Linked DNA regions of Homo sapiens: region 2 is linked to region 1. The links are contacts of gene promoters, found by promoter capture Hi-C in blood cells and fetal thymus (Javierre and others, 2016). All regions are on one chromosome and are shown on one strand. Each heading gives the region's core, a stretch centred on a gene start or on the middle of the fragment in contact. The rest is flanking DNA. Distances are from core to core; before and after follow the strand shown. Region 1 holds the start of NCEH1 (neutral cholesterol ester hydrolase 1). Region 2 overlaps PLD1 (phospholipase D1).

What was found. The method cuts DNA at HindIII sites, captures the fragments that hold promoters and counts their contacts. A CHiCAGO score of 5 or more calls a contact.
Region 2: a fragment that was not itself captured here is called in contact with the fragment with the promoter of NCEH1 in region 1 in 1 of 17 cell types (neutrophils); the score reaches 6.3 in neutrophils.

The regions. Positions count from the first base shown.
Region 1 is chr3:172,707,900-172,714,846 of GRCh38, forward strand. NCEH1 (neutral cholesterol ester hydrolase 1) reads right to left here and starts at 3,168. Exons shown (of 5, transcript NM_020792.6): 1 at 2,948-3,168. The coding sequence starts at 3,085. RefSeq lists enhancers at 2,620-3,819, 2,949-3,218, 3,140-3,434, 3,479-3,618. The HindIII fragment of the contact is 17,687 bases long and covers 1,287-6,947 here.
Region 2 is chr3:171,652,092-171,659,468 of GRCh38, forward strand. PLD1 (phospholipase D1) reads right to left here. Exons shown (of 27, transcript NM_002662.5): 21 at 7,122-7,210. Among named protein-coding and RNA genes, the nearest start is that of PLD1, 150 kb to the right of the region's middle. The HindIII fragment of the contact is 2,636 bases long and covers 917-3,552 here.

The DNA.
Region 1 (6,947 bases), core at 1,918-4,417:
ACACTGCTAAGAACGTTCATCTCCCAGAGATTCTAAGTAAGTTTGGTATGTGGTGTAACCTGGGCATCAAGTGTTTTGTTTTGGTTTGGTTTGTTTTAAACAGTTCTTAGGTGATTCTGACATAGCATCTGTGTTTGAGAGGAGTCAGAGAGATCCTAAGTAGCTGCTTCTTAAGGAATATGGGGAACCCCAAGGAAAAAAAGCACAATGAACATAATCTCAATAGTCTGACTCACTGCACAAGATAAAGGACATAAAAAATGCTAAAGCATAAAGTATTTGCCAATGACAACAGAATAAACTAACATTCACATTTCTTAATGGTAGGCAGCTGATGCTGTCTTAGGAAATAGGCTGAGCTTAATCTCTCAAACAGCTTAAATTGCTTTTGTAGTTGAGCCAATCAACTCAAACTAAAATTATCTGAGTAACGAGGTTGACACCATGCAATTTATTTATTTATATATTTTTTTGAGACAGAGTTTCACTCTTGTTGCCCAGGCTGGAGTGCAGTGGCACAATCTCGACTCAACGCAACCTCCGCCTCCCAGGTTCAAGCGATTCTCCTGCCTCAGCCTCCCAAGTAGCTGGGACTACAGGCACCTGCCACCAGCCCTGGCTAATTTTTTGTATTTTTAGTAGAAAGAGGTTTCACTATGTTGGCCAGGCTGCTGGTCTCGAACTCCTGACCTCGTGATCCACCCGCCTCGGCCTCCCAAAGTGCTGGGATTACAGCGTGAGCCACCGCCCCAGGCCATGACACCAGGTAATTTAGTAGTAGCACTCCAGGTTTCAATCACATAAATTACTTCCAGTTTACATTTATTTTATTGCTTCAAAAAAGGTAAGCATTCTTATAGATGTTCCCACAATCCACAATGGACCCTTGGGGACAACTAGAAGACTCACTACAAGTACCAGGCACTTAAATACATTACTAAACCTTATAGCAAACCTACAAGGTAGTTTTTTGCCCTATTTTACAGGGAAAACTCAGGAAGATTTGAGGTGACACTGGAAAATTGCTTTATTGGGTAGAATATGTTTCCATCTGATCATAATGATCTTTCTGATATTTCACAATTTAGAGGAGAAGTGATAAGAGCCATTTTTCTGCAAATCCACTCCTGAGCCACAGTGTCAGGTGAGAACACTGGTTACCTCATCTATTGCTGACTTCAGGTTACACCCACTATCATTCCCAAGCACCACCTGAGGGTATACTCTGTGGAGGACCTTACACAGCCTTGTCCTTAATGGGCTGGCAAGCCTAGCTGGGAAAGAAAAGCTTTTCTCCAAACCTAGCTTGTCCGAGATTAACTTATGATGGAGAAGACTTCTTTGGTGACCTGAAAACTAAGAATAATCTCTGCAGCCAACACAGCAGTTTGATCTTTTTCCTGTTTTCCTCTGTTTAAGTTATTGTAGTAGACCATTAACCCACCCAGGTAAACATCACTGTTCCTCAATCTTTGAAGGGTATTACTTTCAAATTACATAATTTCATGGGGGAGGAGAGGGAATGCAAGGCTTCCTACAACAAGACTGACTTTCTTGACACCAGTGCTAAAGAAGGGGATGATCATTTTCACCATGTCAACATTATAGGAAGCAAGAGGAAAAGAAGGGGGGCAGGGGTCTATAGCTTCATAGACCTTTCCTAAGAGACAAAAGGGGCTTTGGAGGTGAGAATGTGGCTGAATTCAGGAAAAGCAAATCCACGCTAGGAATGTGCTGCAATATCCTAGTAAGGGGACTTTTCATAGGATAAAGCCCCACAGATTATGTAATCCTACACATAATGAGTGGACAGGGAACAGGAACATAAACCCTCTGGGAAAATCATGACTTTTTTAAAATCAGCTTTCTCAGGTTGAAATGATTTTTTTTCTCTTTCTCTAGTTGTCATTTCTGAAAGAAAGAGTTTATAAAAATATTCTGAGATTAAAGCCCAAGGTTGTGGGGAGGGAGGAGGCTTGGTTTTGGAGAAGGTTAGAGTTTAGATAGAGCAGGCTGCTCAGAAATACTGTCCAATCAGAGGGCTCAGCCTTGGCTGCAGACTGTAGTTTAGATTTTAGATTCTCTGACACTAAAAATAATGCCTCTTACCATGGAATAAACCAGAGACAGTTATATTTTCCTGTGTATGGAAGGAATGAACACACGCCCATGATACAGTGGAGAGAAATGTTACCCTCCCAGGTTAAGGCAGGTAACCTCGCTCAGGAAAAGGTTATCTGACAGCCAAGGACATAAAATAAATGCTGCAGGGCAAGCAGAAAACATGCATCATGCAAACCAGGGCTGCCGCCTCCTCACCTCCTTTCAGCCAGCCCAGCCTCCCAGTCCTCTTTCTTGGGCTGAGCTGAGATCTGCCTCGGGTGAAACGAGAGATCCCTATGGTTCCTCAAGTGCTTGGATGGAGAGCCCTGCCTGCTGTCTCCGGGAACGGAGCGCTCCACAGCCTGGGGACATTGCGAGACTGCCCTTGCCTGCTTCTGCTTCTAAGGTGGCTGCATTCCCAGGAACCAGAGCCTGCTTTTCCCGAGCTCTCCTAAAAATATTTATCCTCTGCCGGTCCCTATGGGAGAACGACAGTGTGAAGAAGGGTGGTTTATAAACTGCTTAAGGATTTGCCTTTTGACGTTGCAAACCAAGGAAGAGGAAGATATTTAGGACAGACGAAGGTTTAAACAGTTGTCAAATTCTATTCAAGCACTTCTTCCCCGTCACAAACGCAGACGGGGAAATGCAGATCTAGCCCGCTGCTAGCAAGGAGGCGAATGCGATACCCTGAAAATTCCCGACTGGACCACCTCAAAAAGCGACAGCCTCAATGCATTAGGAAAAACCTGCGTTTTCGTGGAACCCGGCGGAGGAATTTTGTATCCCCTTCAAATATTGCGTAAGAGGAGGAAGAGAGAAGCAGCGCTGGGCTGCACCTCACCACTTGCTGTGCACCCCGGAAAGTGGCGTCCAGCAGCATCAGCTTCCAGGGGTCGGACACGGAGCCAGGCAGCGGGATGTAGACGTAATAGGCGGCCAGCGCCACCAGGGCGGTGAGCAGGACACAGGACGACCTCATCTTGCCCTGGCTCGGCTCGCCAGCGGGCTGGCAAAGAGGAAAGGGCGATACCACCCGGAGACCTCCGGCAACTTTCTGCCCGCGGCAGCTGCTCATTCACGCGTTTCTTATAAGCCCAGGAGCCAATCAGAGGCTGCGTCGGGAGGAAGTTGGAGCGCGGACATGCCCCCTCTACGGTGTCCTTGCAAAGTGTGGCAGTCACTACAGGTTTGAGGAAGGCTCTGTCGCTGCTCTGGCCGTAGGCACAGCGGACTCTGGAGGACACTGGTTTGTACTGCATGCGTGTGAGGATGGCTTTCCTCCTGGAAGGTCTCAAACGGAAAATAGTTTCAGTGTGACGAGTCTCTGGACAAAGCAAGTGGGTCATTCTGACTCAGAGTACTGAGAAAGGATATAAAAATTCTGTTTTCTGGAGCCAGACTTGGAGTGGTTTGTAAGTTCTAGCTGATATATGGCAAAAGAAGATATTAAATTCTTCTGGCTCAAGCAATGAAAGGCCAGTAGTACATCTAGCACCCAAGTCTTGGTTTCTAAATCCTATGCTCCAATAAGAGGAACCACGGCTTTTTGACACAACCTCTGGAGAAAAGGCTGATACCAGGGCTGGGGCTGTAAAGTACAAGATGAACCTGTTGTGCCAGAGATGCGGAAGTGCTCAAAAAATGATAGGAACTGGTCAAAGGTCCACAGCTGCCAGCTTGAAGGGTCTCCCAGTGGCTGAAGCTGGGATAATTTTACCATCAATATAAATCATCATAATGGATAACCCATTGATTAAAATAAAACTCAACAATCTATATTAATATAAATAAATGAGGAAAGAAGAAAGGCTTTTCTTAAAATAGAATGCCAGCTAGTATCCATAGAAAATCATAAATGAATGCTAAAACTAGAGGGTAAAAATTTGACACAGAATTTTGGTCCTTCATCAGAAGATCTCTCCACAAATTACTACAAAGGGAAAAAATAATAACTTTTTATTGGAGAAACGTGTGGATATCACCTGAAAAATTCTTTCAGTGAGTCAATGGTAGCAGAAATACACTTAAACCCAGATTTCTTGTTAATGATTGGGGGTGAGGAGGGGTGGGTGAGTACTGAATGGGAGAGAGAAAACTTCACTAGCAAAATTTCAACCAGAAATCCAGAAGGAAAACAGTTAGAAGACCTGTTTCAAGAAAGTGGTAGGATGACAACTCCAAACTTATTGATGAAGGTCTTAAAACACCTAGTATATATAATTATGCATCTTAAGATGGTAATTTTAATTTAATCAAATTAATAGAAGTGAAATAACCATAAATTTGGTTCTGATAATGAGATTTTTAGGAAACAGTTGGCTTCTTCTTCAACATTGAAGGAAAACTGATAAGAAGGGCACACTTTCATGGTATTTCAAGCAAGTTCTCTCTCTCTTTTTTTTTTGTTTTGTTTGTTTTTGGTGTTTGTTTTTTGTTTTTTTTGAGACGGAGTCTTGCTCTTTTCGCCCAGGCTAGAGTGCAATGGCACGATCTCAGCTCACTGCAACCTCCACCTCCTGGGTTCAAGCAATTCTCTTGCCTCAGCCTCCTCAGTAGGTGGGATTACAGGTGCCCACCACCACACCTGGCTGATTTTTGTATTTTTAGTAGAGATGGGGTTTCACCATGCTGGCCAGGCTGGTCTCAAACTCCTGACCTTGTGATCTGCCCACCTCAGTCTCCCAAAGTGCTGGGATTACAGGCATGATCCACGGCACCTGGCCTCTCTCTCTCTCTCTCTCTCTCTCTCTCTCTCTCTCTCTCTCTCTCTCTGTCTTTTAAGTTACTGGTTAAACTCATAACTCTAAACAGATAGGAATGTTTATGTTTATGTTTGTGTGTGAGTATATGTGTAGAAAATTAGAAGCTATTCTTTTTTTTTTTGAGATAGAGCATCGCTCTTGTCACCCAGGCTGGAGTGCAATGGTGCAATCTTGGCTCACTGCAACCTCTGCCTCCCGGGTTCAAGCCATTCTGCCTCAGCCTCCCGAGTAGCTGGGATTTCAGATGCCTGCCACTAAGCCCAGCTAATTTTGTATTTTTAGTAGAGACAGGGTTTCACCGTGTTGGCCAGGCTGGTCTTGAACTCCTGACTTCAGGTGATCCACCTGCCTCAGCCTCCAAAAGTGCTGGGATTACAGGTGTGAACTACCACGCCCAGCCAGAAGCTAATCTTTATGGGTGATTAGGAATAATCCTGGAGATATAAACCAAGCTGACTACTGGATTTAGTTACATTACTTGCTTTCAGGAAATCTGCAAAATAAATCCAAGTTTTACCTTGTCGACAATACTTTTCTCTTAGATTTTGACTATATGTTCATAAAAACATAGATCTTAGAGCTAATGACAAAACCAAACCGAACCAAAAACAAACAAGCAAACAAATCCAAAAATCCCCACACCTAACTCAGCCTTCCCTCTTCCACCAGCAGTTAACACACTCGGTGTTATAGATGAGCCTCTTGAGGATTAGCGCAGCCAAATGGCTTACTCATATTCCTCTAGTTTGTAAGTGATAGTAGCAATATTTATTTCTGCCTCTCAGTGAAGTGTGGCTTCCCTTAAGCAGTACACTAAGAGATAGAAACTAAGAAAGAACAAAGAAACTGTAGTAATTCTCAGATCAGAAATCTGAGAGCCTCTGTAGATCTGAGAGTTTTTTAAAATGAGACTAATTTGAGATAAGTATAAACACCTTCATCACTTGTTTTCAATACTTCATTCATTCAACAAACATACCTGGCCTACACTGGGAAATAAAGAAGTTGTGGCAGGCAGGCTGTAAGGTTTCGACTCTTTGATTTTATATGCTTGGAGGGTGGTGGGGAGGGGTTCAGGGGAGGATGTAAGCATGATACAGAAGGAAGAGCCAAACAATAAACAAACAAAAATTAATAAGCAACATGCATTAATTTGCCTTGCTATGAGGTAATTCTGTGGTAAGCACTTTGAATATATTAACTAATTTAGCTTCATAACGATTCTACGAAATAGGTACCATTGTTACTCTAAAAACAGGCACTGAAAGATGAAGTGCTTTGCCCAAGCCATCCAGCTGGTATGTGAGCCCAGAGTCTGAGCCTAGTGCTCATGTGCTTTACCACTCAGCTCTACTGCTAAGTGGTTAAAAATGAAAATGGCCGGGCGTGGTGGCTCACGCCTGTAATCCCAGCACTTTGGGAGGCCAAGGTGGGTGGATCACCTGAGGTTGGGAGTTGGAGACCAGCCTGGCCAACATGGGGAAACCCCGTCTCTATGAAAAATACAAAAATTAGCTGGGTGTGGTGGCACGTGCCTGTAATCCCAGCTACTCGGGAGGCTGAGGCAGGAGAATTGCTTGAACCCGGGAGGTGGAGGTTGCAGTGAGCCGAGATTCCACCATTGCACTCTAGCCTGGGCAACAAGAGTAAAACTCCGTCTCAGAAAAAAAAAAAGAGAGAGAGAGAAAACAGAACAGGGTGTCTGGGAGCTGCTTTAAATTGGGTGGGAAAGGGGACCTCTTTAAGGAGATGCCATTTGAGCTGACATCTGCATGACAGGAGAAGACTGCCATGCAGGGTTGTGGAGGTGGAGGGAACAGGTGCAGAGGCTCTAAGATGCTAACCCGGTCAATGAACACTAACAGCTAGTGAGGCAGAAGTACTGTGGGAAAGGTGGTGGAACAGGCTCAGCCACAGAGGTAGTGTGGGTGCAGAAGAGCAGATCATTTAGGACCATGTAGGCCATGTTAAGGAGTTTGAATATTCTGGTACAATGGGAAGCAATTGGAGGTTTTGTAACAGGAAAGTGACATGATCTGATCTATTCATATATTTAAAAAGGAGCACTACAGCTGCCAT
Region 2 (7,377 bases), core at 985-3,484, 1.1 Mb before region 1:
GTGAAACCAATGATTGGCATACTTAGATAAAATGTGTTTTGGCCAGGCGCGGTGGCTCATGCCTGTAATCCCAGCACTTTGGCAGGCCAAGGCGGGCGGACCACGAGGTCAGCAGATCGAGACCATCCTGGATAACACAGTGAAACCCCGTCTCTACTAAAAATACAAAAAAATAGCCAGGCGTGGTGGCAGGCACCTGTAGTCCCAGCTACTCGGGAGGCTGAGGCAGGAGAATGGCGTGAACCCAGGAGGTGGAGTTTGCAGTGAGCCAAGATCGCGCCACTGCACTCCAGCCTCGGCGACAGAGTGAGACTCCTTCTCAAAAAAAAAAAAAAAAAAAGGTACTGCAGTTGAATTTTCTTTAAGACAAGGCTTCTGAAACAAGCCCAACATGTCTTTTCAGTTTGGTACAAAATTATAGGATATGGTAATTATGGACATAGATTTTTCTTTAAACCCAAGAACTTTTAATCTATCAAACATTGCTTTTAAAAAATAAAACATTCATCTGATTTTTTTTTTCTTTTTGTGACAGGGTCTTGCTCTGTTACCCAGGCTGGAGTGCAGTGGTGCAATCATGGCGCACTGCAGCCTTCACCTCCCAGGCTAAGAGATCCTCCCACCTCAGCTTCCCGGATGGCTGGGACCACAGGCATGTACCAGCACACTCAGCTATTTTTTTTTTTTTTTTTTTTTTTTTTTTTGTAGAGACTAGGTCTCACTATGTTGCACAGACTGGTCTTGAACTCCTGAACTCAAGTGATCTTCCTGCCTCGGCCTCCCAAAGTGCTAGAATCAAAGGCATAAGCCACAGTGCCCAGCTCATTCAATTTTTTATATTTCAAAATAAAGTATTTTTCATAGATTTCTGGGAGGCTTACCATTCGAAAATTTCTACATCCCTTGAAATGGGGGAAGCTTTGTAGCTTACTGGTAAAAAGCACAAGTTGAGGTCCTACAGACATGGTTTGAGTCCTACTCCTATCCAACCATAGCTGTATGACTTGGCTAAGTTATCTAATTTCACTAGGCCTCAGCTGCCTCATCTGTAGAATGGGAGTAATTACACAACCAATCCCATAAAGTTGATACAAAGACTGAATGAGGTAACACAGGTATAGCACTGATTATGTGGAAAGACTCAGAAACTATTTGGTAACATTTTTATTCAATTATATCAATTGCTGATTTCAATTAGAAGGCTTGCATATCTTCAAATAACAACAAAGTAAATAGCATCTAAAATTAAAACAATACTAAACTAAACACATATTATGCTTCAGAATACATTTTGTTTTACTTTATATTTTGGGGAGAGTGTTATCAGATCAATAACAGGGAAATCAAAAATTGATTCCCAGGAAGAGTCAGCTATAGGTTTCTGGCAGCAAACCTCTAGACAGAGTGTTGTAATCGTGTGCCTAAACAAGTCACATGATGAACAACAGCCAGTCGTGAGAAACCAAAACAAATTTTTCTTATCCAGAAGTAGCCGTCCAATAATTTAAAATACGGAACATTTAAGCATCTTTTAAATTAAAACATTTCTTTTTCTAGCATAAATACTAATTTTGAAACAGCTGATTTGAATATGATGCCTCTTTATCCTTGCTTCAATTTACAGTGAACAACATATTTCCAGATGATGAATATCATGGAAATGCTATAATAAGTTCTTACATGAACTGGTGCTTTACAGCTTACAAACTACTTTCACATATATTCATATAAGCTACGTAGAACAGATAATATTATTCGTGGTTGGTGAAGAAACAGCGTGTCAGAAGGACAAACTGACGTACTCAGAAGGTCACATACCTGTGGATAACAGAGCTGGAGAGAATCCAGGTCTCCAGACATCTGGTCCCCCAATAATTTCAGATTTCCCAGTGTGGTATTTCCCATACCACCCACTTACAGGCAAGCAGTAGCTCTTCTACAGTTATAAGAAGCATGAGGGGCACTTTGGGAGGCCGAGGTGGGCGGATCACTTGAGGTTAGGAGTTCAAAGCTAGCCTGGCCGACATGGTGAAACCCCGTCTCCACCAAAAATACAAAAAAATTAGCTGAGTGTGGTGGCGGGTGCCTGTAATCCCAGATACTCGGGAGGCTGAGGCAGGAGAATTGCTTGAACCCGGGAGATGGAGGTTGCAGTAAGCCAAGATCACACCACTGCACTTCAGCTTGGGTGACAGAGCAAGACTGTCTCAAAAAAAAAAAAAAAAAAAAGAACATGGTAAGTTTGAACAATGTTCAAAATTGTTGTTTTAATGTAGTTTAATAGCATATTTTTAATGCAGTTTAATATTAAAACATAGAAGCATTAAGTCAACTGACTATTTTCATTGTGTGTGTCAACTGTTTGTTGCTAACACTATAAAATGCACTTTCTCACTTCCTGACTTTCTACCAAAGCAGAAAAATTATGCATGTCAAGTTTCCATGTGCAAAGATCTGAGAATCTCCTCAGAAACCATTCATTCATGGCACACAGTGTTTAAAAATGTGTCTACCTGGATCAGTTGGTCCTATCTTTTGGCTTAGTCAAACATGGCATAAAACAGTAAATTTTAGACTGTGGATTATGATTTTTTTTCTCTCTGATCGCCAATCACATTTGAGCTGTCAAAGAAAGGTTTCAAGTGGGTTGGGCAGCTGGCTTCAACTCTGAGACAGTTTTACTTATTAGAGTGAAGATTTGTTTTTTGTTTTTTTTTTATTCTGATTCCCCCGGCTGTTCTGAGGTCAGCATGGGGTAAACATGAGTCTGAGGCTCTAGGTCATGTCAGAACATGAAGGCTTTGCAAAACTTATTTCTATAAAGAATTATGGCTGTTGAGAAGGAACCAGAGGAAGTGAGAGGAACTGAGAAATTGCTTAGGGGAATTGTTGTGAGGCTGGATTCCAACGCTGGCAGAAAAATACTTAGACCAGTCCAGGGAGTTGGCAATTTGAAGACTCAGATTTCTCCAGGGTAGGAGGGACCTGGCAGAGGGCCTGTATTCTTTGGTGAGGCCTGGCTGACTGCGGACTGTCATTTCCCTCCATCTGCTTTGGGCTGCATTCTATTCTTTTTCAAATAGCCAAAATTATACTTGTTGCTAAGAATGTGACTTTGGCAGGGAAGTTCTGAGTCTCAGAAAAGTAGAGACCAGAGAAGTCTATGGAGAGAGAGGGGTAAGTTTGGGATGGCACATCATGGCACCTAATTAGTGAAAAGGGGTCACCCCAGGGTGGCAACCTGCAAAATATGTTGTTTCTTTCATTTTTTATTTATTTATTTTTTTAGAGATGAGGCCTCATTCTATCTCCTAAGCTGGAGTGTAGTGGTGAGATTATAGTTCACTGCAGCCTCATACTCTCAGGCTTAAGGAATCCTCTTGCCTCAGCCTCCAAGTAGCTAGAACTACAGGCACACCAAAACATCTGGATAATTTTTTATTTTTTTGTAAAGACAGGTGGTCTCAAATTTCTAGCCTTTAGAAATCCTCCCGCCTCCGCCTCCCAAAGTGCTGGGATTACAGGTGTGAGCCACCACACCTGCCCAAGATAAGCTTTTTAATTCTGCCTTTACCTTGCCTAACACAAGCTCACAGAACACAAGCTCACAGATTTGAAATTAAGTGAAAATATATTTTACAGTTGCAATTAACATAGGGAGATTAACAAGAATGCAGAGACGCCAGGGGTGAGGGGAACATAAAATATGTTTTGAGAATGTGTGTGTGTATCCACTGAAAGTCTAAATGTGTGACATATGTACCATTTTGAAAATGTGTCTGTCAAAAAAATGAGACTATTGAGAGATCAGAGCTAAATGACACAGGTTTATTTGAAATTTGATGAACTAATTTCCCATTTTTCACAAAGCAAACTTGAAATTGCCAGTCTTTAATGTGCTCTGTCAAACTCCAAGTGTAAGATACAATCTGCAACAGGTGCTACTTTACCATAATTTTTAAAGTCACAGATCCCTTTTCCTTTCAGGAGCAGCTCATAAGATCACTAGGAAATGTTCTATCAGAAAATATCTTGAAGTTTCTTGTAGCCCTAAAATACTATAATTTTATTTATTTATTTATTTATTTATTTATTTTGAGACAGAGTCTTGGTCTGTCACCCAGGCTGGAGTGCAATGGCATGATCTCAGCTCACTGCAATCTCCACCTCCTGGGTTCAAGCAGTTCTCCTACCGCAGCCACCTGAACAGCTGGGACTACAGTCATGCACCACCAAGCCCAGCTAATTTTTGTACTATTAGTAGAGACAGAGTTTCACCACACTGGTCAGACTGGTCTCAAACTCCTGACCTCAGGTGATCCACCCGCCTCAGCCTCCCAAAGTGCTGGGATTACAGGCGTGAGCCACCATGCCCAGCCTAATTTTATTATTTTAGAAGTCCAGATTTTTAAAGACAAATTACTACAGTAAAGAAAAATATTCTTTCAGGCTTCCAAACACTTAAAAACACATCTTTGGAACAGTATAAAATACCGGGGCCAGGCCCCGATCCAGGAAATTATGATCCAGTAAGCCTGGAGGTGAGTCAAGCTCTCTGTAATCTTGCAAAAGTCAGTGGTGATTTTGATGTGTAGTCACAGGTGAGATCCACTGTACACACTGCAGGATATGATGGATGCTGTAGTGTGCTGCCTAGATCCCCTCACCATGGGATCAAGACATCCATCCCATCAGCTACTGAGCATGTAGGCCACGGAATACTCACAGTGAAGTCCTCCAGGTATGAAAAGTATGGAGTCCTCCATAGGTGAAAGGGACTTGCCTCACTCAAGGTCATCCCCACTCCCTAGGGTCAGCCTGCATCCAATGGCTGGTCAATAGGGGAAGGGAACTACAGGCCCAACACATTTGCCTCAGCTTGGGGAAGCCCTGAATGGGTTTTTAATCCTAACCATCAATGCACTAGAGTCATGTGGTGTGAGGGGAAGCATTGGGTTGAAAGTCCAAAGATTTAGGCTCAAAGCTGTTTTTTGCCTATTGTGGTTAGTGGCCTAGACAAGTCACATAACCTCTTGAATCTCAGTTTTTAATCCTAAAAATGGGAACAGCAACAACAGCAATAATAACAACAATAACAACAACAAATACATGACCTACTCTCAAGTGTAGTTGTGAAGATTCAGTGAGATAATGTAGTTATAAACTGTGAATCACATAAAATGCTGATAGTTACTGTTATAATATGTCCTTAAGTATAAAAGTCCCCAAATATTATGTGAAAAAAGATATCAAAGTACCACATGACACTGGAAGTAAAAAGTGTTTTAATTCCCAAATGCATATGCACTTATTCTTCACTGCGTGCATTCAATGACTTAAAGTAATGAAATATAATGGTTTTGCTTATGTGTTTGTTCTGCTACTTTTAAATGGAGCTGAAATCAGCCATAAGAAGAAATTGTCCCTGGTGCCAAGACAATTCAATGTGGAAAGAATAGTCTTTTTAACAAATGGTGCTAGGGCAACTCTATATCCATCAACAAAAGAATAAAAAGTTGGGCCCCTAACTCACCCCATATATAAAAAGTAACAAAATGAGTCAAATATCTAAATGTAGGAGCTAACACTATAAAATTCCCAGGAGAAAACAGGCATAAATCTTCATGATCCTAGATCAGGCAGTGATTTCTTAGATATCACTATCTATATTCCTTAGATACCAAAAGGACAAGCGATACAAGGAAAAAAATAGATAAGTTAGCTTTTATCAAAATAAAAAAAATTTCTGTTTCAAATGACACCAGCAAGAAAGTAAAAAGACAAGCCATCGAATGGGAGAAACTAGGAATCATATATCTGATATGAGACTTGTATCTAGAATGTATAAAGAATTCTTACAACTCAAAAATAAAAAGTCAAATACCCCAGTGAACAAATGGGCAAGGGATTTCAGTAGACATTTCTCCATAGATAATACACAAATGGCCAATAAGCACACACAAAGATGCTCAGTATCATTAGTCATTAGAGAAATTCAAATGAAAATCACAATGAAATACCATTTCTTAAATGGTATTTCACACCTACTAGAATGACTATAATCAAAGAGAGAGATAATAATAAGTATTGGCAAATACAGAGAAACTGGACCTCTCATATACTATGGGAATATAAAATGGCAGAGCCGCTTTGGAAGACAGTCTGGCAGTTCCTCAAAATGTTAAACATAGAGTTAGCTATAACCTGACAATTCTACCCCTAGAGAAATGAAAATATATATCTGCACAAAAACTAGTAAAGGATGTTTATAGCAGCATTATTTATAATAGGCAAAAAGTAGAAACAACCCAAATGTCCATCAACTAATGAATGGATAAATACAATGTGGTATATCCACATCATGGAATATTATCTGGCAATAAAAAGAAATGAAATACTGATACATGCTATAATAATAGATAAGCTTCAAGAACATTATGCTAAGACAAATCAGTCATAAAAGACCCCATATTGTGTGACTCCATTTATACAAAATGCCCAGATTAGGCAAATCTATAGAAAAAGAAAAATCAGTGGTAGCCAGAGGCTAAAAATAGAAGGAATGGGTAATGACTGCTAATGGGGTTTCTTTCTGAGTGGATGAAAATGTTCTAAAATTGATTAGGTGGTGGTTGTGCAACTCTGTGAATACACTAAAAATCACTGAATTGTATAGTTTAAGTGGCTGGATTATACAGTATGTAAATTCTATCTCAGCAAACCAATTATTAAAAAAAAAATCCCATGAGCTGAATAAATATGACATACGGTAACAAGAATTTAAATATAACCCATAGCAAAATATTATGTCTGTTTTGCTTTTTTAAGCGAACACAGCTCATAGTCTGCTATTAAATAAAACAAATCACAAACCTCATGTGTGGGAAACAGACTGGCCAGGAAGAAATTTTTGTGCCTTGGAAGAATTCAAATTCCCTAGAAAGGGCAGTCAAAAATCTTTAGCAACTGACTCAGACTAAAGGCATCAATAACCTATTGCTGGCTGAACCAAATTTAAGCTGCTAGGAAATGACAGTACTTTAAAAATGGGCTTTGCAAAGTCATTTTAGTAATAAATACAAGAACATCTGCAGCGAGAACTCTCAGCCAAAGGCTGTTACCTGTGAGCTTTCAGGATCCTCTGGGCAATGGCATCGCCTATCTTGTTGAACACAACTTTGTCATCAGCACAGCTTATGAAAAACTGGTTCTATGAGAAATAAACAAGACAATCATGTTAGTCTTTATTTTCTTAGCAATATACGTAAGAACAATACTGTAATATATTTTTTAAAATGTTTCACACAGCAGATGTGTTCTGATCACTGAAATCACATCAAGAAAGTCAACGACACAGAAAAAAAGCCGCCTCATCTC